Regions from separate parts of the Homo sapiens genome. Here regions 1, 3, 4, 5 and 6 are each linked to region 2. The links are contacts of gene promoters, found by promoter capture Hi-C in blood cells and fetal thymus (Javierre and others, 2016). All regions are on one chromosome and are shown on one strand. The core of a region is centred on a gene start or on the middle of the fragment in contact, and the rest is flanking DNA. Distances in the headings are between cores, read along the strand shown.

Region 1 (3,681 bases), core at 799-3,298, 170 kb before region 2:
TGGCTAAGGAGGGGCATTCAGGACACAATGGCCATGAGGGGTAGTGGAAGGTGTCAGGGTCAATGGACTCTAGGTCCCCATGGAATTCAGGAATGCTTTGAGCAAATCTTGGCATTACACTTCTTTTTTTTTTTTTTTTTCTTTTTTTGATAGAGTCTCACTCTGTTGCCAAGCTGGAGTGCAGTGATGTGATCTCGGCTCACTGCAACCTCTGCCTCCCGGGTTCAAGTGATTCTCCTGCCTCAGCCTCCCAAGTAGCTGGGACTACAGATGCATACCACCATGCCCAGCTAATTTTTGTATTTTTAGTAGAGACAGAGTTTCACCATGTTGACCAGGATGGTCTTATCTCTTGAACTCGTGGTCCGCCTGCCTTGGCCTCCCAAAGTGCTGGGATTACAATTCTTTTTTTAAAAGGTGCTTAAGAATGGGACATTTCCTTGCCATCTTCCCACATCACCTTCTTTATTCTCACTTTTTTTATTCACCTTTGCACAGTTTAAATAGTAAGCTTATGAGGTAGAGTGTTGCTAGCTTCTTTGCTTCTATTGAGGTTTGGGGGGCAGGGGACAGGACATCGCTCAGAGTGCAAACTCATAATTCTCGCAAATAGTTAAATGGTGTTATTTGGAAGTCCTTTAGTATTATCCAGATTTGGCTTAGAAATAGGATTATGCTGCTGAACTTTATTTTTCTTCTTAATGTACAAAGAGCTCTCTTAACTCAGACATTCCGGTGCTTTGTTGGAATTTTCTATGTAATGCAGCCTATTACAGAGTAATTTTGAGGGGAGTTGTAACTTGACCTCTAACTTGGGGCAGGATCCTAATAAAATAGAAGTCTCCTGACCAGAGCTTCTTGCTCAGGTTCCTAACAGGAATGTCTTCTCTCCAGAATGGCTGCAGGAGATCAAATGACAGAGGCAGTTTTATCAGTTTGTTGTGCTGGTCTTTCACCTGCCTGAAAACTATCTTTAAATGATTGCTTTCCAAGTGCAATGACACAGCAGTCTGTTTTCTAGAGACCTGAAGTTCAAATAAGCTTCTTGTTTGCCCTGGTGATTCTGGAGGTGATTTAAGGTAGAAAGAGCAGTTCTCAAAGACACAGAAAGAGCCAAAAATAATATAATTTGTAAGATTTTGAAACTCAAAAAAGTGAAAATGACCCACTAAGTCCACCATCCCTGCCTTGAATAGTCTCCATGTTCATCTTCCCACTTCTACACAGGATTGCAGAGAAGCTGTTCTAAAAGAGAGCTTTCTGCCCATTTAGAAATTAGGTCCAAAACTCTGTCAATGTCTCAAGAATTTTCTAAAGTTATATTTATCTTTATGCAGATTTACTCCTCCACACTTGTACTCATTCTTTCATTGGCTACAGAGGGATATTCCCAGTTTGGAAAGTAATTCATTTCTTGTTGCTACGACAAACAAACCTAATGGTTAAATTATTTTCTTACCACAAGAAAAATTAATCATGATAAACTAGAGCATAAGTCTGGATTTTTTGGTTTTTTGAACCTATGGAAAACATAGCCTTGTGAAAGGTGACTTGAATTCTCCCGGAGTTCAACTCCTTCATCTTCCTGGCATTGTGGAATAGTGGAAAGAGAAAGAGAGCTGAAGTCAGAAGCCTCAAATCCCAACTCTGCTTTTATAAGCTGCATCATCACAGTTTATATTATTCTTAATTTATAGCTCCAGTCTCTTCATCTGCAAAATGTTAAGAAGCATGCCTATATTTGTTACCAGATAATCAGGTAACATATGAAAACTACTTTGTAAACAGTAAAACATTGTAAAAAGTGTCTTTATTTGTAGAGTTCACTCCAAGATGCCTCATGTTAACTTGTTTGGGGTCCTCCCTGAGCCCCTCTCCATCTTCCCTCTGCTCTTTCTTTCCCCAGCTTCCTCTCTCATTTCCCTAGTGTTCAGCTTTCCTTCATGGAATGTTATTGTAGCAGAGTTCCCAGAAATGACACAAAAACTAAAAACACAGTCAAAGAAGAAAGTAATAACAGTGTACAGAGACCTTCCTTCGGCAAAACACATTTCTTAGAGGGTGCTATAAGACTGGGCAAAGGGGGAGCAAGAGGAAAAAGCAGATTGGAGAAGCCAGTGACAGGAAAGCAGGAGATGGGGAGAAGGAAGAGTAAAGGAGCCAGGAAAGAGTCAACTAGAAAGGGAGAGAACGCACATCACTCCCAAGTTTCTGAGCCCGGTCGGGAAAGGAGGATAGAGGGCTGCATAATGCCAATAAATCATAAAAGTACATAAAAGGGAGTTTGTACAGAAAAGAGCAAAGTAAGCACAACAGAACAAAATTCTTTTCCAGGAGCGGGTATCAGGTAGCATTGCATGTAGGCACTGTGATAAACTAAAGTTATTGTGCAGTATAAACTGACAGGAAGAGTTTAATAAGAGTATGTGATTCCTACAGCCAATTACTAGAAAGAAAATGTAATCACTGTTATATTTGTATTGCAGGTAAAATTATACTATGACCAATAAAATAGAGAAAAGATAGGCCGGGCACGGTGGCTCACGCCTGTAATCCCAGCACTTTGGGAGGCTGAGGCGGGTGGATCACAAGGTCAGGAGATCAAGACCATCCTGGCTAACACAGTGAAACCCTGTCTCTACTAAAAATACAAAACATTAGCCAAGCGTGGTGGTGGGTGCCTGTAGTCCCAGCTACTCGGGAGGCTGAGGCAGGAGAATGGTGTGAACCCAGGAGGCGGAGCTTGCAGTGAGCTGAGATTGTGCCACTGCACTCTAGCCTGGGTGGCAGAGCAAGACTCTGTCTCAAAAAAAAAAAAAAAAAAAAAAAAAATATATATATATATATATATGTATATATGTGTATATATATATATATGTATATATATATATGTATATATATATGTATATATATATATGTATATATATATATATATAGAGAGAGAGAGAGAGAGAGAGAGAAAAGATTTGCTTAAAATGCAAATGCTCTGTGCACATGAGGGAACATGTGTAGGAAATTAATTTAGAGCAACACACATTCCCATCTACAAGCTTCCCGCCTCCGTGAAATAAAGGGGCACTCTGCAAAAGCTCAGAAGTGTGTTTTTGGTAGATACCAGGTGTGGAAATTGAAAGGATGAAGGGGCTGGAGGAGGAATCACCACCAAGACTTGGGCTGGGATTCACAGAAGGAAGAGTGGCCTACACGGAACAGCAATCCTGTTAAGGACGAGACTCTTTAGTGGAATTTCTTGAGTAGGGTAATTGCTAATACCTAGTCTACTTTGTAATTAAAGAGAGCCACATAAGCCCACTTGCAGACCTAGGCTCCTGTGTAAAGATTACCAACCAATCCTCAATCTTCTGACACACACATATAAGATGTCTTTCTTTGAGCCTGGATAAGGGCAGAGCAGACCATATTACATCCTGGACTTTTACTCTCACAAGACTGTTTCAGAATCTAGCATTGGGGTAGAAACCAGGATAGTGAGCTAAAGTTGGGAGCTAAATATTCTACATCTTCAAGCTCCTCAGATAAAACCATAGAGGAGGTAAACTATTTCTGTTTTCATATTCCAAAAGTATTCCATGACTCATCCCTTTCTTTTTTCTTGAGTGTTCCTTCTCTTTCATATCACATCCATCTCATCTCAGGCGAACCTAATCTCTGTTACCCCAC
Region 2 (3,964 bases), core at 827-3,326:
TTCATTCTCCAGAATTGATTGCTGATTGAAAGTCAGCATCTGTGAATTTCAAGGCTGGTTGATCACTTGAAAATTAAGGAATTTATTTTGATTAGTTCAATTAAGGATAAATCCTGTTCCCCATTTCTTTTCTTTTTCTTTTTTTTTTTTTTTTTTTGAGACGAAGTCCTGCTCTTGTCCCCCAGGCTGGAGTGAGATGGCGCGATCTCGGCTCACTGCAACCTCTGCCTCCTGGGTTCAAGCGATTCTTCTGCCTCGGCCCCCCGAGTAGCTGTGATTACAGGCGCCTGCCACCATGCCCAGCTAATTTTTGTATTTTTAGTAGAGACGGGGTTTCACCGTGTTGGCCAGGCTGGTCTAGAACTCCTGACCTCAGGTGATCCACCCGCCTCGGCCTCCCAAAGTGCTGGGATTACAAGCATGAGCCACCGCGCCCACCCAATCCTGTTCCCCATTTCTAACTCTAAATTTTCCAATTTACCAAAGAGTTCTGGCAAGTGCCAAGGAGCTCATCTTGTTTCATTTCTACACCATCCAACTAAGGAGCGAAGCATTCGTGAGTACAAAAAGACCAGAGTTACAAAGTTCTAACGAAACAAAGCACTCTAATCTCATTTTATTTTGATTTTCCAGTTTGTCTGCCTCTACCTTCTAGATTATAAACTCCCTACAGGCAGGAAATGTGTAGGCCCAACTGAAATCCAGAAGATAAACATTTATTGACTGCATGCATAAATTAGTCAAGATGCCTTCCCCAAGGCTGACAATTTAGTGTGACACATATATTAAAACATTTTTAAGTCTTGGTTCTGCTGGACCTGCCAGATGGGGAAGAAATACACAATACCTGAAGATTGTTCACAAGCTGGGGGAACCAGTGGGTGGATTAGTTTTTTTTCTGAGAGAAGATCCTACTTCAGTGAATTGTGGGTCATAATGTTTGAGAGGCAATAATTATGCTGAATGAAAGAAGTTAGACGGAAAAAAAAGGTGCGTGCTGTATGATTCCCGTATATAAAACTTTAGCATGTGCAAACTTATCTGTACTGAAAGTAGATCTGTAGTTGATAAGGGACGTGATGGAGAGGGACGAGATGAAGGGATTATGAAGGGGGGGGAGGAAACTTAGAGGTGAATACGTTCATTTGATTATGGTGATTTCATGGGTGCACAGGTATGTCAAAACTTATCAAATTGGACATTTAAATACGTGCAGTTTGTCATGTCAATTATTTTAAAATAAAGTCGTTTTTAAAAAAGAGATAAGACAGTCAGATCCCTGAGGGTCAGATTGAGGAACTCTCGAAGACTTCAGGAGCAGAAAGATGTTAAAGCAGTTTTAAGAAAATTAAACTGATTGTGGTCTTCCCAGTAGATAAGGAATAACATTTAGTAAACCATTGCTAATAGCCAAACCTTGGCATGTGTGACAGCAAAATAAATGGAAAGGTGGATAGGTACATATTACATCAAGGGAACAACCCAGTTTTTGGTGCAGAAGGTGTGGTGTATGCGTGTATGTGGGTGAGTATCTCTGGAGGGAAAAAGACAGTCCCATAGTTAAACAAAGAAGAATATTTACCGGCAGCAACAGGAGAGGCTAGAGAAAGAACATGATTGGGGTAAAAAGATGATTCTGCATTTTGGACGAGGAGAGAGTAACATTTAAAGCCTCTACTCGCTCTGAAGCACACAGAGTGTGTTGCGACACTCGAGTTTGCTGGAGCGAGTCGGCACAGGCCAGGCCTAGTTAGCGGAATGAGCCCACACAGCAACTCCAGACTGGATCCGCAAGCCTTGAACCTTAACCCTCAACCTCCGATTCCCCAAGTTCCACTCTCGTAGCTGAGGCTGAAGTTTGTCTAAGTCCCGCCTAGGTACCCAACGGAGATACGGCGTGAACACCCCACCACTTTCTGGGAACCCAGAGGCGGTCGGCGTGGCGGCGCGAACCTGCCCAGCGCGTGCGCGCGGCGCGCAGGGAGGCGGCCTGGAATCGAGGGAGCGCGCGCCCTTCACGTGACCCGACCCGCGGGCGGCGACGCACGCGCCGCGCCGCGCCGCTCACGTGGTCCGTCCCCAGCCCCGTCGCCGGCGGAGGCGGGCGCGGGCGCGTCCCTGTGGCCAGTCACCCGGAGGAGTTGGTCGCACAATTATGAAAGACTCGGCTTCTGCTGCTAGCGCCGGAGCTGAGTTAGTTCTGAGAAGGTTTCCCTGGGCGTTCCTTGTCCGGCGGCCTCTGCTGCCGCCTCCGGAGACGCTTCCCGATAGATGGCTACAGGCCGCGGAGGAGGAGGAGGTGGAGTTGCTGCCCTTCCGGAGTCCGCCCCGTGAGGAGAATGGTACTGGACCCACGCAGGCCCGGGCGGGGAATGGTTCTGGGGTTGCGGGCGGTAAAGGAGAGACTTGGCAGGCAAGTGTGTGGGGAGCCGCGTTCCATGCGGCGAAGGACCCTCGAATTGCCTTGAGGCTTCCGGATTTGTCCTCTCGGGACGGGTGTGCAGTTCGTTCTGGGGTGAGGGGCGGGAGCAGGTAGCAAGTTAGAGGCGACACCTCTTCGCGGGAATCCCCTGAGCCGAGACTCGGCTCCCAGCGAGGGCCTCTCCAGGCGGCAGAGGCGCGAGCCCGGGACTACCTGGCTGGGCTCAGCTGAGCGGCCTCAGCGCGCCCGACGCAGGGCTCAGCCTACAAGCTCCGCATCTCCTGGGAGCACGGTCCTCCTGGCGCCAGTTGCTGGCAGATAAGGGAACCAAATGCTCTGCTCAAGTTTTACATGGAAAAAAGGGAGGGAGGGCTAGAAGGGTGCAAAAAGGGGGTAGAGGACACGGGTTTGGAGCAGTGCCTTGTTTGCTGTGCAGCGGATACTCTACAGGTACATTTCCTTTTTGGAACCAAAAGGGAGGGATTTGACAATATTGATGGTAGATCTTTTTTCTTTAGCAAGAATTAAGGATTTTGGTGGGTGGGGGGAGGCTTCTGTGGGGACCAAGACAATGTACTGTCAGTCAGGATTTAAGTCGAACTACCGCATCCCTTGCCCCAGAGAACAGTTGATCGTGTTTTAAACCGAAAGGTGCGGAATGGAGAGAGGGAGGCGGTGCATTGCAGCTTCCGATAGAGCTTTTTATTTTTGGATATCAGGAACCAATTTTGAAGATTTCTTAAGAAAGTCATTTACATCAGGGACATGAAGAGCAAAGTAGGTATTTTTGGTCAGTACTTGAATTTGATAGGCTTTATGCAAACAACTCTCCCTCTGCTGGAGTCTGGCAAGTTTGCTTTTCACTGGACGCTAATTCAAGTGCCATACAAAACTAAAATAAGAGTTTTACTTATAACACAAATGTAGTAATACTTTGAATAAATAATGTGTCTTTCACTATTTTCCACCTTATTCTTTTTTGTTTGTTTGTTTTGAGACAGGGTCTCACTCTGTCGCCCAGGCTGGAGTGAAGTGGCGCGATCTCCGCTCACTGCAACATCCGCCTCCGGGATTCAGGCGATTCTCCTGCCTCAGGCTCCCGAGTAGCTGGGACTGTAGCCACCATGCCCGGCTAATTTTTGCATTTTTAGTAGAGACGGGGTTTCACCATGTTTGGCAGGCTCGTCTCTTAATTCCTGACCTCAGGTGATCCGCCCGCCTCAGCCCCCCAAAGTCCTGGGATTACAGGCGTGAGCCACCGCGCCAGGCCAACATGGGAGATTTCAAACTTGCAAAGATACATTGTAGAATGAACTACCATATACCCATTGGCCAGTTTCAACAGCTTCAACCATGTGAATTTTATTTCTTCTATCATTCCTCAATGGGATAATTTTAAAGCAAATCCCAGACAAATGTCATTTATGGATACTTTATTGTGTTTATGTCTAAAAAGACAAGGACTTTTTAACATAACCACAATATTATTATCATGCCTAAAAATTAATAATTGCTTAGTATCATTAAATATTCAGCATATTT
Region 3 (3,638 bases), core at 218-2,717, 220 kb before region 2:
AACACAAGTGGTGATGAAATAATGTATTGAACAACTTCTTTGAATCTCATAGTTTATCCTGGAACAATACACTCAATTTTTTTTAAGTCAGTTTCACTTAAGAATATCCTTGATGAAGCAGTAAGAATTCTTAATTTTATTAAATTTCAGTCTTTGAGTGCACTTTTTAAAAAATTTTTTTTGTGACAAAATGGGAAGTACTCATAAAGTACAACCTCATAAAGTATAAACTCTTAAATCCTGAGGCTTTTCTTTTGGCCGGGTGTGGTGGCTCAGGCCTATAATCCCAGCACTTTGGGAGGCTGAGGCGGGCAGAGCACCTGAGGTCAGGGGTTCGAAACCAGCCTGGCCAACGTGGTGAAACCCCATCTCTACTAAAAATGCAAAATTACCTGCGCGTGGTGGCACATGCCTGTAATCCCAGCTACTTGGGAGGCTGAGGCAGGAGAATCACTTGAACCCGGGAGGCGGAGGTTGCAGTGAGCTGAGATCGTGCCATTGCACTTCAACCTGGGCAACAAGAGCGAAACTCCGTCTCAAAAAAAAAAAAAAGAAAAAGAAAAAATTCTTGAGGCATAACTGAGATAAGATAGTTTCTCAAGGAAAAGCATTTGTATCATTGTTTAACTTGAAAGCTGAACCGGCCTGGCACAGTGGCTCATGCTTGTAATGCCAGCACTTTGGGAGGCCAAGGCGGGGGGATCACGAGGTCAGGAGATCAATACCATCCTAGTTAACACGGTGCAAAACCCGTCTCTACCAAAAATACAAAAAATTAGCCGGGCGTGGTGGCGGGCGCCTGTAGTCCCAGCGATTCTGGAGGCTGAGGCAGGAGAATGGCGTGAACCTGGGAGGCGGAGCTTGCAGTGAGCCTAGATCACGCCACTGCACTCCAGCCTGGGCGACAGAGTGAGACTCCGTCTCAAAAAAAGAAAAGAGAAGGCCGGGCGCGGTGGCTCACGCCTGTAATCCCAGCACTTTGGGAGGCCGAGACGGACGGATCACGAGGTCAGGAGATCGAGACCATCCTGGCTAACACGGTGAAACCCCGTCTCTACTAAAAATACAAAAATTAGCCGGGCATGGTGGCGCGCGCCTGTAGTCCCAGCTACACGGGAGGCTGAGGCAGGAGAATGGCGTGAACCCGGGAGGCGGAGCTTGCAGTGAGTCGAGATCGCGCCACTGTACTCCATCCTGGGCGACAGAGCGAAACTACGTCTCAGAAAAAAAAAAGAAAAGAGAAAGCTGAACCAACCACTTTTTTTCATGGAACACCATTTTTAGTTGAAAGCGATAAACAGTAGTTTTCTTGAAAATGAACAGTGAGTCTTTCAGTTGTAGGGAAAGAAAAAAATCTTTTTCTCTTACCCTTCTAAGTTCTTGGCTGGGTCCCCTGTGAAAAAAACAAGCAAGTTTATTAAAATGTATGGAGCATATAACATAGGAATAACTAGAAATGAGTAATTCAAAGAAGGTAAAACTCTGGCTTATATAGCATCTTTAACAAAATACAATAAACTTATAGAGAAATGACAGGACAAAGGAAAGCAGTTTTAGTCTTCCAGGGCTGGGAATCTTGGGGAAGGAAAATATATGGAAAGAAACTAATGAAGTAAGGTTTGTGTGCACATTCCTCTGGTGCCACCTCTGGGCTAGTAAGATGGTAGAGTTGCCTCCAGTAAAGGAAGTTGTATCCTGCCTTTAAACAGAAAAGGAGGAGGGTAGAGAGAGTGTTTCCTGCCTTTGCTGCTGCTTAATTGCCTTCAGCTCAAAATAATATTCATGTCAAATAGGAATATTTTGGGGTGACAGAGTCTGGTTTCCTTCACACTTCAAGGAAGATAACTGACAATATTTGTTGCCACTGATAAATTCAGGCTTTCAAGTGAAAACTAAAATTTTGAAAAATGTTTGTCTACTACAATTTTAATAATTTCCAGATACATAAAGACCATTCTGATAAATTGGTGATTATGTTAATGAATTTTTTATATTGTATAATTAAATGTGCCAACATTTGAAAGATCTCCATAACTCAATGAACCAATATTTTCCAAATGATCAATGCACAATGTTATAAAATTATGTACCAGCAAAACATCCACTTAAAGCAAATAGTGTAACCATAATAGGGCCCTTCGCCCAATATGTGACAAGTTAATATGCCAAGACACCAGGTTGTAGCAGAGAAAGAGGTTTAATTGTAGGGCTGCCAGATGAGGAGATGGGAGAAAACCTCAAATCCATTTCCCCAAGGAATGTGGAGCTAGGGATTTTAAAGGTTTGGGAGTAGGCCAAAGTGTAGAGATTGATCAGAGTGCAGGGTGAAGCCATGGGACAGGGAGATGTTATTGATTCCGTTCCTCTCTGGGGGTTTTTAAACTGGTTGGCATCAGCTGTTCAGGTGGAATTCAGGATCTGCTTAAGCAGTTCTTAAACCCTTTATGATTCTAATGTCAGAGATCCTATCTATCTTAAAAGCCCTGGCCAGGCGCGGTGGCTCACATCTGTAATCCTAGCACTTTGGGAGTCCGTGCCAAGGCAGACAGATCACTTGAGGTCAGGAGTTTGAGGCCAGCCAGGCCAACATGGTGAAACCCCGTCTCTACCAAAAACACAAAAATTAGTTGAGTGGGCCAGGTGCGGTGGTTCATGCCTGTAATCCCAGCACTTTGGGCCAAGGCGGGCAAATCACCTGAGGTCAGGAGTTCGAGATCAGCCTGGCCAACATGGTGAAACCCTGTCTCTACTAAAAATACAAAAATCAGCTAGGCGTGGTGGCAGGTGCCTGTAATCGCAGCTATTCGGGAGGCTGAGGCAGGAGAATCGCTTGAACCCAGGAGGCAGAGGTTGCAGTGAGCCAAGATTGCATCACTGCATTCCAGCCTGGGTGACAGAGAGAGACTCCATCTCAAAAAAAAAAAAAAAAAAAAGCCTAATGTCAGAAATTCTGTCAATAGGAACAATGGGAACGCAAATGGTCTCTATGTAGTGTAACCTGACTTTTGGTTACAAGGAAGTGGGTCAGAGTGCAGCCTGATTAATGCTCAATTATAACTATATTTCCTTCCAGAATTCTTGTTAACCCTTTGAGGACAGCTTCAATAGAATTATGATTTCAATGTAACCTAGTAAAAAAGGTTCCCTGATGGTTTCAGATTCCACATTGCAACAACTTTTTAAAAACTACTTACTGCTTTTAGTGTTGGATCTAAGAAGAATATCTACAATTATTTGAAAGGGATTTTTCCCCAACTACTTTCTGTATGTGACCAGGTTTTCCTCATAAACTTCAACAAAAAAGAAAAACCTTGTGGTAGGCTGATAATGACTTCCAAAGATGTCCGTGTTCTAATCCCTGGAATTTGTGTTACCTCGTGGTAAAACTTTTACAGATGAGATGAAGTTAAGGATCTTTAGGTAAAGAGATTATCATGGATTACCTGAGTGGATTATTGATGTTATCTCAAGCATCCTGTTAAGAGAGAAGGGAGATTAGCCACCCAACACAGAAGTGAAATTGATGTGAAGATGAAGGCAGAGATTAGTGTGATGCCTCTAAAAGTCAAGCAATGCCAGCAGTTACCAAAAGCTGGAAGAAGAAGCTTCTCTAGAGCCTCCAGAGGGAACGTTTTCCT
Region 4 (3,875 bases), core at 987-3,486, 150 kb before region 2:
ACATAGTGGCATGTGCCTGTAATCCCAGCCACTCGGGAGGCTGAGGGATGAGAATTGCTTGAACTTGGGAGGCAGAGGTTGCAGTGAGCTGAGATCGTGCCACTGCACTCCAGCCTGGGCAACAGAGCAAGACTCTGTCTCTAAATTAATTAATTAATTAATTAATTTAATTAAAATAAAAAAATTGATAATCTTGATAATCTCGACTTTATTAAAATTAAAAAATTTCTGCTGCATGAAAAACAGTGTCAAGAAAATGAGAAGCCACAAACCAGGAGAAAATATTTGCAAAAGACACATATATAAAGAACTTTTAAAGCTCAACAACAAGAAAACAACCCAATTTAAAAAGGAGTAAAAGATTTAAACAGATTCCTCACCAAAGAAGATACACAGATGACAAGGAAGCATATGAAAAGGTATTCAACATTATATATCCTTAGGAAATTATGAATTAAAACAACAAATATATACCATTACACACCTATTATAATGGCCAAAACACAACACCAAACTCTGGATGTGGAGCAACAGGAACTCTCCTTCATTGCTGGTGGGAATGCAAAATGGTATGGCCACTTTGGAAAAGAATTCAGCAGTTTCTTAGAAAACTAAATGTACTCTTAACTGTACAATTCAGCAATCATGCTCCATGGTATTTACCCAAAGGAAGTGAAAGCTTATGTTCACACAAAAACTTGTATGCGGATGTTTATAACAGCTTTATTCATAATTGCCAAAACTTGGAAGCAACCAAGCTGTCCTTCAGTAGGTAATGGATAAATTGTTGTAATTCCAAACAATGAATTTTTCAGCACTTTAAGAAGTGAGCTATCAAGCCACTAAAAGACATGGAGGAAACTTAAATGCATATTATTAGGTGAGTGCAAAAGTAATTGCGGTTTTTGCATTGTTGGAATTTGCCGTTTGATATTAGAATACATTCTTAAATAAATGTGGTTATGTTATACATCATTTTAATGGGAATTTCTTGCTTTATGTTTTTGTTTTTGTTTTTTGCTAATGACTTATTATGTGCTCTTTGTTTTATGTTTATTTTAAAGTATGGAAATGATGTTAGACAAAAAGCAAATTCAAGTGATTTTCTTTTTTGAGTTCGAAATGGGTCATATAGCAGGGAAGAAGACTCTCAACATCAACAATGCATTTGGCCCAGGAACTGCTAACGAAAGTACAGTGCAGTGGTGATTCAAGAAGTTTTGCAAGGGAGAACCTTGAACATGAGGAGCGTCGTCACTGGCCATTGGAAGTTGACAACTACCAATGGAGAGCAATCATCAAAGTTGATCCTCTTACACCTACAAGAGAAGTTGCCGAAGAACTCAACATCGACCATTCTGTGGTTGTTCGGCATTTGATGCAAATTGGAAAGGTGAAAAAGCTTGATAAGTGGGTGCCTCATGAGCTGAGCGAAAATCAAAAAAATCATTTTAAAGTGTCATCTTCTCTTATCCTATGCAACAATGAACCATTTCTTGATCGGATTGTGACATGCATTGAAAAGTAGATTTTATACAACGACCAGTGACGACCAGCTCAGTGGCTGCGCTGAGAAAAAGTCCCAAAGCAACTCCTAAGCCAAACTTGCACCATAAAAAGGTCATGGTCACTGTTTGGTGGTCTGCTACCGGTCTAATCCACTACAGCTTTCAAATTCCCGGCGAAACCATTACATCTGAGAATTATGCTCAGCAAATCAATGAGATGCACCGAAAACTGCAATGCTTGCAGCTGGCATTGGACAACAGAAAGGACTCAACTCTTCTCCATGACAATGCCCCCCGTACATTGCACAACCAATGCTTCAAAAGTTGAACGAATTGGGCTACAAAGTTTTGCCTAGTCTTCCATATTCACCTAACCTCTCACCAACCGACTACCACTTCTTCAAGCATCTGGACAACTTTTTGCGGGGAAAATGCTTCCACAGCCAGCAGGATGCAGAAAATGCTTTCCAAGAGTTTGTTGAATCCCAAAGCACGGATTTTACACTACAGGAATAAACAAAATTATTTCTCGTTGGCAAAAATGTATTGATTGTAATAATTCCCATTTTGATTAATAAAGATGTGTTTCAGCCTAGGTATAATGATTCAAAATTCACGGTCCCAAACCACAATTACTTTTGCACCAACTTAATACTAAGAAAAAAAAAGCCAGTCTGAACAGGATATATACTGTATAATTCCAACTATGTGATATTCTGAAAAAGGTAAAACTTTGGAGACAGTAAAAAGATCAGGAGTTGCAGGGAGGGAACGATAATAGGCAGAGCACAAAAGATTTTTAGGGTAGTGAAACTCTTCTGTATGATACTACAATTGTGGATACCTGTCATTATATATTCATCAAAACCCATGGAAGGTACAACACCAAGAATGAATCCTAATGTAAACTAAGGATTTACAGTGAAAATGATGTGTCAGTGCAGGTTCATTGATTGTAACAAATGTACTCCTGTGGTGTAGGATGTCCATAGTGGGTGAGGTTATACAGGTATGGGAATTGGTAGCAGATTAATATCTTTTTTTTTTTTTTGAGACGGAGTCCCGCTCTTGTTGCCTAAGCTGGAGTGCAATGGTGCAATCTCGGCTCACTGCAACCTCCACTTCCCAGGTTCAAGCGATTCTCCTGCCTCAGCCTCCCAAGTAACTGGGATTACAGGTGCTTACCACCACGCCTGGCTAATTTTTGTATTTTCAGTAGAGACCGGGTTTCACCATGTTGGTTAAGCTGGTCTCAAACTCCTGACTTCTGGTGATCCGCCTGCCTTAGCCTCCCAAAGTGCTGGGATTACAAGACTGAGCCACCATGCCCAGCCATGGATTAATATATTTGAAGTGCTGCAGAAAAACAATGGTAAGGTTATAACATCTATCTATCTATCTATCTATCTATCTATCTATCTATCTATCTATCAATAATGAAGTCAAAATAAAGACTTCTTCAGACATTTAAAGCAGGCAGTTTACTGTCTCAGTTACTCATTAAAAAAATAACTAAACTTTCTTATTTGGGAAAAATAAAATAAAAACATAGAGAAGCTTCTATTGGCCAAATATAGGAAAAAAGTGAACATCAAAAGGAATATTGGGCCTGGGCACAGTGGCTCACGTCCATAATCCCAGCACTCTGGGAGGCTGAGGCAGACTGATCACTTGAGCCCAGGAGTACGAAACTGGCCTAGGCAACATGGTGAAACTCCATCTCTACAAAAAAACACAAAAGTTAGCCAGGTGTGGCACATGCCTGTAGTCCCAGCTACTCGGGAGGCTGAGGTGGAAGGATCACTTGAGCCCAGGAAACGGAGGCTATAGTGAGCCATGATCATGCCACTTCACTGCAGCCTGGGAGACAGAGTGAGACCTTGTCTCAAAACAACAACAACAACAAAAAGGATATTGACTACATTTGATTTAAACATACTGAATATATAAAAATCCATGAGTTCACAGTGTTACAGAATCAAAAAGTAAAAGTAAACAAGGAAAAGCAAATACACACCCATGCAAACACTGGACACTATTAAAACCTAGGGTACAATACTTACTTTGAAAAATTGGCAATTAAAAATAATTGAGAATTAATCCTGCCTTTCCTGAGTGAAGTATACTTCAGAGTAACCAAATACTTAATGAGGGAAAGTTCTTTATAAAAGAACTCCAGTTAATAAATTAAAGGAAAAATACATTATAAATTTTCTATTTTACAACATAATGAAATAGTCGATACAACAGGCAAACCTCATCAATGGCTAAAACTACTAAATTAAAGATTGAGAACTTTACAATAAAAGGATCAGACATTACCACTTGAACCTTCTGATCAATCTTAGCATCACTTATAATGACACA
Region 5 (3,628 bases), core at 3-2,502, 130 kb before region 2:
GAATAAAAGCTAATCCTCACATTGAAATTAATGCAATGAATAATGGCCTTTTGTTGAAGCACTGATGAGGTCACGTCTAGTCCAAGCAGAAGCCTGTCAATCTCATATTGTGGTCTACGTTTAATCGGGCCTTTGTTTTCAAGTTCACAACCACTAGAAATTCAATCTAAGATTTACACATTGCTAACTCTAACGTCATCAATTTACATGTTTTAAGTTGCATCTGCTGGTCCGTAGGGCGTGAGGACTTTTAGGTCTGCATAAAGTTCATCAAAATTTTCTCAACAATATTTATGGTTTTTTGTTTATTTATTTATTCATTTATTGATTGATTGAGAAAGGGTCTCACTCTGTCACCCAGGCTGGAGTGCAATGGTGCAATTTCAGCTCACCGCAACCTCCACCTCCCGGGTTCAAGTGATTCTCCTACCTCAGTCTCCTGAGTAGCTAGGATTACAGGCATGTGCCACCACACCTGGCTAATTTTTGTATTTTTTTTTAGTAGAGACAGGGTTTCACCATGTTGGCCAGGCTGGTCTCTAACTCCTGGCCTCAAGTGATCAGCCCGCCTTGGCCTCCCAAAGTGCTCAGATTATAGGCGTGAGCCACCGCACCCGGCCTCAACAATATTTGATATGTATCAAAAACATGTAAACTAAGAAAGCTTTGAGGGCATAATTATATATTCTTAAAATTAGGAAAAAAAATCAACACATGAGATTACAGTGAAATCCATACTCAAATCCTGCTGATAAATTGTTACAATCCTTTTGGAAAGTAATATGGCAACATAGGTGGCAAAAACCACAATGTTTTTCTTGAAACCCTAAGGCCACTTCTAGGAGTTTATGCTGTAGAACTAATTCAACAGAAGATTAAAACTATGTACATGAAGTTATTCATATGCAAGACTGAAAAATCAGAAACAAGTTAAATGTCTTTGTAAGTTACAATCTTTTAAGTTTTCAATTACCTTAACTAATGGTGGCTTATTGAGAGATAAAATGGATTATGAAGACTGACACATAGTTTCAGAACTAGAATCTCTTAAGGTATAAGACATTTTGTTGCACTGTCATCATCAAAGTAATATTAACTTCTCAATCCCTCTTCAGGTACTCTGCTTTTAAAGAGACTTGGATATTCTTTAACTCTGCTTCCACTATTCCTACTACTACCAAACTATTTCCCTTATGTCTCAACTTGAAATGTCTTCAAAAAGAGTACCTGATTATTTGGGGCATTTACTATGCAATATTGAGGGGTCTTTGCGGGGCAGAGCTTGCCCACAAGACTATCATAGATCTCTGACCACGGTCCAATGTCCACAGCCCTGATCCAATTAGCAGTACCAAAGATAGTAAGGTGACACAGTACATTTTTTTCTGTCTTCAGATTACCTGATTTTTGCAATCTGAAAGATAAAATAAAAGGTTTTTAAAATGAATATTACTTAGTTATACACTTAATACAAGTTGTCCTTAATTGTCCATTCTTTTGATAAAAACATGACCATACTCTGTTCAGCATGATTCATATTTGCAGACAGATTTCTAAAATTAGGAAAGGTCATTGCCCAGCAAAGAGATACTTCATCATGTAACCATTTCTGAGATCCTATGATAAGAAAATATAGTGCATTCATTTCTCATTTCCTGCACCTTAATAAATCTGTTCCTGTTATCTTTTCCTAAAACTGTAGCTGTAGAAAAACATAAATACTTATCAAATAGGCAGAGAAAGTGCTGAGAGATTTACTCATGCATGTTTTTATCAGAAAAAAAAATGTCTAGAAAAGAGTTGCCCATGTTACACATGAACAATATAAAATGAAGCTTTATGAAAAACATAAGCATTAACAAGATAAAAGAAACAGCAACTATGCAAATAAACTAAGCAAAGAAAGCAGCAGTAAGGAAAGGAGGATGGCACACCAAATACTATCTAAACATAACACAGAGAATAGAAAAATGTAAGAGCTGTTTGTTTTATCATGTTTGTGATAAAATAACTTATTACAAAATGATAAAATAACATAATAAAAGGTGTAAAAGAGAGATTGCATGGCCGGGCATGGTGGCTCATGCCTGTAATCCCAGCACTTTGGGAGGCCGAGGCGGGCAGATCACCTGAGGTCGGGAGTTTGTGACCAGCCTGACCAACATGGAGAAACCCCATCTCTACTGAAAACACAAAATTAGCCGGGCGTGGTGGCGCATGCCTGTAATCCCAGCTACTAGGGAGGCTGAGGCAGGAGAATCACTTGAACCTGGGAGGCAGAGGTTGCGGTGAACCGAGATCGCACCATTGCACTCCAGCCTGGGCAACAAGAGCAAAACTCCATCTCAAAAAAAATTAAAAATAAAAATAAGTAAAATAAGAGATTGCAGAATCTAGGAAACAAAACTATATTAATTAGGAGCCAGAAACCATACTACTTACTTTAACAGAAAGAGTTCAAGAACTGCTAACTAGGTAATCAAGAACTGACAAGGGAAAAATAAAACACTAAGATTATAGATAGATATACAGATTATAGACAGATTATAAAAAGGAGCTTCTATCCCTGGGGCTTGAGGAATAAAGGGAAAAGGCTAGAATAATTAAAACTTAGAAGCTTGGAGGAGAAGCCCAAAAAAACTGAGTACCAGATCTCTGAAAAGAACGCGCTGCTTAGCTGGTGCTATGGTCTTTTTGCTCAGAGAAGGGCCTCCATGGAATTACGACCAAAATCTCTAAGGAAGTGGTGCTGACCAGCTGATATTAGGTATTTGAGGGGGTGTGATGAGGTTAGTTCTGCAAGTATTAAGCAAACTGTGACTGTAACCTGGACTGTATAGCTGCTCTGCTGCTACTGGATCAAACTTACTCAGCCAGAGTTAAAAATGAGGCTGGGGTACTGCTATACAGAGGAGGAATCCAACAGGAAAGAAGGAAGTCCATCCTCCCTCCTCCAGCCTTTCACTCTCTCTCTCTGATATTCCCTATTGGAAACACCTCAGAGAGCAACTGGCAAAGCAGAAATGTGGTTTGCATAGTCCCAGCTCCAGCATCATAAAACAACATTAGGAAAGGGTGGATGTGGCACTGAGAGATTATATTTAATAACTGGCCAAAGGACCAAAACAATGCTATTACAGAATTAATGAACAAATCTGGAACAGCAAAAATCAAAACAAAAAAAGCAACACAAAAAAACAGATCTAAGGACAAGAGAGAAAGAAAGGAAAGAAGGAAGGAAGATCACTGCTACCGGTGATCCAACTCACACAGCTTTTGTTAAGGCACACTTGATTCTAACACTAAATTGTTTGAACTTCTTTTCACTGTTTTCTTTGACAGTGGCCTCTCCTGTCATGCTGGTGGACACAATAGCTAGCAGAATAGCCATAGTTATGACCTGGCCCTGAATAGCCAAAATAGGCCATATTGGACATCAGAAACTTAGAATCAACCTCTGTTATCAATGGAGATACAGAAAAAAGTAAAACATGTGGTCTCTGAAAATAAACTATGTAGTGCTTAGCAAATGTAACATTCTGCATTGTCAGTGATTAATTTTATTGATACCTTGGAATATATTGCAAAAATTGTTCTGGCCAGGCGTGGTGGCTCACACCTGTAGTCC
Region 6 (3,844 bases), core at 658-3,157, 240 kb before region 2:
AGATAACTATACATTTGTGATTAATTTATTTATTCTAATATACCAAATTATAAAAAGTGGTTACCTCTAGGAAGTAAGGTCTCAAAACTTTAACTGCCCGTGTTATATATTTATCTAGTTAGGGAATTTTTTTTTGTAACAAGCATATATTACTTTTGAGATTAAAAAAAAAAAAACATGAAAAACAAATTTCTTAATTCTCTAATTCCATTTTTAAAAGACGTATCTCTAAAAATTGAAAAAAAAAGTCAACAGTAAGTTTAAGTAATAGGTAATTTCAGCTAGTAATATTAAAATCTTTTTATTAATATTAAAAATCTTTGGCCTGTAATCCCAGCACTTTGGGAGGCTGAGGTGGGTGGATCACTTGAGGCCAGGAGTTCAAAACCAGCCTGGCCAACATGGCGAAACCCTGTCTCTACTAAAAATACAAAAATTAGCCAGGTGTGGTGGTGCACACCTGTAGTTCCAGTTACTTGGGTGGCTGAGGCACAAGAATCGCTTGAACCTGGGAGGCAGAAGTTGCAGTGAGCCAAGGTTGTGCCACTGCACTCCAACCTGGTGACAGAGTAAGACTCAGTCTCAAATTAAAAAGGAAAGAAAAGAAAAAAAACTCGTTAACATTCTCACCCTAAAATAGTAGCTTTCTATGTTTCTTTTTTATATATATATATCACTGGATAGCAGACTCCAAATATTCTGGGGGACAGAGGGGAGGAATACAAGGACACACATGGAATAAAAAGATGTTATTCCTCTCTTTGCCCAGTTCATCTGTTTCAAAACCTCATGATAATAAAGAGAAAAGTATATACTAGTTTTGCACTTCATCTGTAGCAGATAACATCTAGCACACAGAAGCAAAAATAAAGAAATGCCATCCTATGTTCATGATGTAGTTTCCAAGGAAGCTTCTTCCTTGTTAGAAATTCTCTCTCTTGTCTATTTCTACATATCTGTTATTTGCAGACTATGCTGGCAGTGCTCAGAACAGCAGCAAACATCACAAAAGTGAAGTATTTACTTTTAGGGTTCCTTAACAGATATTTCTGTCGTAGAATCTCAAGACTGAGACTATTCAGTGCAATCCTTTGTGTTCCACTCAAGAACTCCTTTTATAAGATTCTTAATAAGTGGTCATACAAATTCCATTAATAAACAACTCTTATCTTCCTAGGCAAGCTATGCCATAACGGAAAACTCTTCACAAAAAAAAAAAGAAAAGAAAAGAAAGGCAGATTAATAACAGATTTACTGTTAGTATTAATACTGTGGTGAATGCAAGCCACGTCACAGTGTATTGCCATTGCGTGTTAACTGATATTAATTCTGGGGGAGAATAGGTAAATGAAGTGAGGAAAAAAAAAAAAAAAACTCTGAATAGGCCCAGGAGTTCACAGGCCTGGCCTCAAGTGGTGGTACTAACATAAGACGAGAGACCTAGATTCAGGCTCTGGGGTTGGTATGCTGAAATACAACCAGGGATTCAAAAGTTGAATTCAAGCCTTATTTCAAATATTCTTTGTGACATCTACTGGCTTACCTATAGCTCTGCCTCATATTCGTCAGCTCTTTACTCCAGAGCATGGGGCTGAGTATGGCCATAACTGCAAAAGCTGAGTTTCAAAAAGTCTAAACTCTAGCCAGGACTTGAAATTAGACTAAACACAAAGCAATAAAGAAAAAAATTGAAACGGGACCTTTCAATTCTCAGAAGGATTTCATACAAATGGTCAGTAAGTAAGGTCACCACAAAAGTAGTGGTAAGGAAAAGTTAAGCAAAAATATGCTGCTTTTATAATCAGATCACCTTATAAATCTCAAAAAAGCAAATATTTCCAATAATTAATTGTCCATAATCATCCTTCGTTCTAAACACAGATATGATATACAATACATAAAAAGTCTGAAAGACCTATGAAGTTATTCTGTAATTCTTAGTAAAAGCTATCATTTTAGCTGGAAGATTCATGATTCAATATTTCTTAAAGTATACAAGTTGGCCGGGCATGGTGGCTCACGCCTGTAAGCCCAGCACTTTGGGAGGCCAAGACAGGTGGATCACGAGGTCAGGAGTTCGAGACCAGCTTGGCCTATATGGTGAAACACTGTCTCTACTAAAACATTAGCCAGGCATAGTGGCGGGCGCCTGTAGTTCCAACTACTCAGGAGGCTGAGGCAGAAGAATAGCTTGAACCCGGGAGGCAGAGGTTGCAGTGAGCCAAGATCACACCACTGCACTCCAGCCTGGGCGACCGAGCAAGACTCCATCTCAAAAAAAAAAAAGAATACAAGCTATAAAACAACATTTTGCAATCTCAGAACATTAAAAATACTGATTTAAAGTATGTAAAATAAATGTTGTATGAGTAACAAAAAAATCTTCATCAAGAATATATAACTGACATACCATAATCACAATGATTGCAAACCTTTTCCAACTTTAAAAATTATGGGCCAGGCGCAGTGGCTCACATGTGTAATCTCAGCACTTTGGGAGGCCGAGGCAGGTGAATCACAAGGTCAGGAGTTCAAGATCAGCCGGGCCAAGATGGTGAAACCCTGCCTCCACTAAAAATACAAAAAATTAGCTGGGCATGGTGGCGTGTTCCTGTAATTCCAGCTACTCAGGAGGCTGAGGCAGAGAACTGCTTAAACCTGGGAGGTGGAGCGTGCAGTGAGCCGAGATCACTCCACCGCACTCCAGCCTAGGCAACAGAGTGAGACTCTGTCTCAAAAAAATTAATTAATTAATTAATTAAAATTATGACATAAAGGGGCTTGGTCAAAAACAAAATATTAATAATTCAAATACAGTGAAAAGTAAGTCAGTCTGATAAGGAGACAGTTAAGGAAATTTACAAGAGAAGATTAGCAAAATACTACAAAGTAAATTAAGCTTGGAAACATTCTGCTGTAAAATAGGATTAAAATGCTGTGGTTTTGATATAAAAAGCATCTTCCCGGGCCGGGCATGGTGGTTCACACCTGTAATCCCAGCACTTTGGGAGGCCGAGGCAGGTGGATCACCTGAGGTCAGGAGTTCGAGACCAGCCTGGCCAAACCCAGTTTCTATTAAAAAAAAAAAAAAAAATTAGTCGGGCATGGTGGCAGGCACCTGTAATCCTAGCTACATGGGAGGCTGAGGCAGGAGAATTGCTTGAACCCGGGAGGCAGAGGTTGCAGTGAGCCAAGTTCATGCCATTGCACTCCAGCCTGGACAACGGAGTGAGACTCTGTCTCAAAAAAAAAAAAAAAGCATCTTCCCACTACACTGAAGCTTTGCATTCACAACACTTGCACAATTTCCATATGTTTTTCATTATTTCACTTTATCCCCAAAACAACTTTGGTAGAACTAAGGAGCTTCAACCAACCCCATATAGCCAAGGAAAAACAAGACCACTGCTCATTAGTGGTAGAAATGGGAGGCAAGCCAAGGATTCCTGGATACTAGGCCTCACTGTCTCTTAGTCTAACTTTAGAAAGCTGTCTAACATTTCCCTAAACCCACATAAAAATAAAGATGATCCTATTGAAGATTTTTGTATTATTCCTAGCAGTCAAATAATCTCTATCCTGGTAGCACTGAAGTTGTAATAAATTTTCTAGCATAAACTTCTGTTTTGAAATATATGGCATAGATGCCTATCCCAAAAGAATTTACTTACTTAGAATGTTGAAGTTTATCTTCTATTAATGGAAGAACAGCTGGAATCATTTCGCAGGGGAAAATCTGGCTAACAACAGTCAGTGCCATACACACTTCTACTAGGTTAGTGCTCTGCAGATCCTGGCACAACATTAAGCAAAGAAAACATTTAGTGTAAATACTGAAACTAGG

Evidence for each region. Contacts are between HindIII fragments. The CHiCAGO score rates a contact against its expected background, and 5 or more counts as called.
Region 1: a contact is called between a fragment that was not itself captured here and the fragment with the promoter of TRPM7 in region 2, in 2 of 17 cell types (activated CD4 T cells and erythroblasts). The highest score is 5.3, in activated CD4 T cells.
Region 3: a contact is called between a fragment that was not itself captured here and the fragment with the promoter of TRPM7 in region 2, in 17 of 17 cell types (activated CD4 T cells, naive CD4 T cells, total CD8 T cells and 14 more). The highest score is 18.2, in activated CD4 T cells.
Region 4: a contact is called between a fragment that was not itself captured here and the fragment with the promoter of TRPM7 in region 2, in 2 of 17 cell types (erythroblasts and megakaryocytes). The highest score is 6.3, in erythroblasts.
Region 5: a contact is called between a fragment that was not itself captured here and the fragment with the promoter of TRPM7 in region 2, in 4 of 17 cell types (erythroblasts, activated CD4 T cells, megakaryocytes and 1 more). The highest score is 6.6, in erythroblasts.
Region 6: a contact is called between a fragment that was not itself captured here and the fragment with the promoter of TRPM7 in region 2, in 12 of 17 cell types (M1 macrophages, total CD8 T cells, M0 macrophages and 9 more). The highest score is 12.4, in M1 macrophages.

Annotation. Positions count from the first base shown.
Region 1 is chr15:50,855,223-50,858,903 of GRCh38, reverse strand. The region is part of intron 1 of LOC124903490 (a long non-coding RNA gene); the gene reads left to right. Among named protein-coding and RNA genes, the nearest start is that of AP4E1, 52 kb to the left of the region's middle. The HindIII fragment of the contact is 2,009 bases long and covers 1,044-3,052 here.
Region 2 is chr15:50,684,909-50,688,872 of GRCh38, reverse strand. TRPM7 (transient receptor potential cation channel subfamily M member 7) reads left to right here and starts at 2,076. Exons shown (of 39, transcript NM_017672.6): 1 at 2,076-2,342. The coding sequence starts at 2,340. LOC128092252 reads left to right here and starts at 2,156. Exons shown (of 4, transcript NM_001414947.1): 1 at 2,156-2,342. The coding sequence starts at 2,156. RefSeq lists enhancers at 1,685-1,864, 2,175-2,594, 2,124-2,988 and a silencer at 1,955-2,124. The HindIII fragment of the contact is 16,005 bases long and covers 1-3,964 here.
Region 3 is chr15:50,900,775-50,904,412 of GRCh38, reverse strand. No RefSeq gene overlaps it. Among named protein-coding and RNA genes, the nearest start is that of AP4E1, 6.1 kb to the left of the region's middle. The HindIII fragment of the contact is 4,281 bases long and covers 1-3,607 here.
Region 4 is chr15:50,834,788-50,838,662 of GRCh38, reverse strand. No RefSeq gene overlaps it. Among named protein-coding and RNA genes, the nearest start is that of SPPL2A, 71 kb to the right of the region's middle. The HindIII fragment of the contact is 1,663 bases long and covers 1,405-3,067 here.
Region 5 is chr15:50,817,487-50,821,114 of GRCh38, reverse strand. No RefSeq gene overlaps it. Among named protein-coding and RNA genes, the nearest start is that of SPPL2A, 54 kb to the right of the region's middle. The HindIII fragment of the contact is 1,171 bases long and covers 667-1,837 here.
Region 6 is chr15:50,925,047-50,928,890 of GRCh38, reverse strand. It overlaps AP4E1 (adaptor related protein complex 4 subunit epsilon 1), which reads right to left. Exons shown (of 21, transcript NM_007347.5): 5 at 3,672-3,793. Among named protein-coding and RNA genes, the nearest start is that of AP4E1, 18 kb to the right of the region's middle. The HindIII fragment of the contact is 1,988 bases long and covers 914-2,901 here.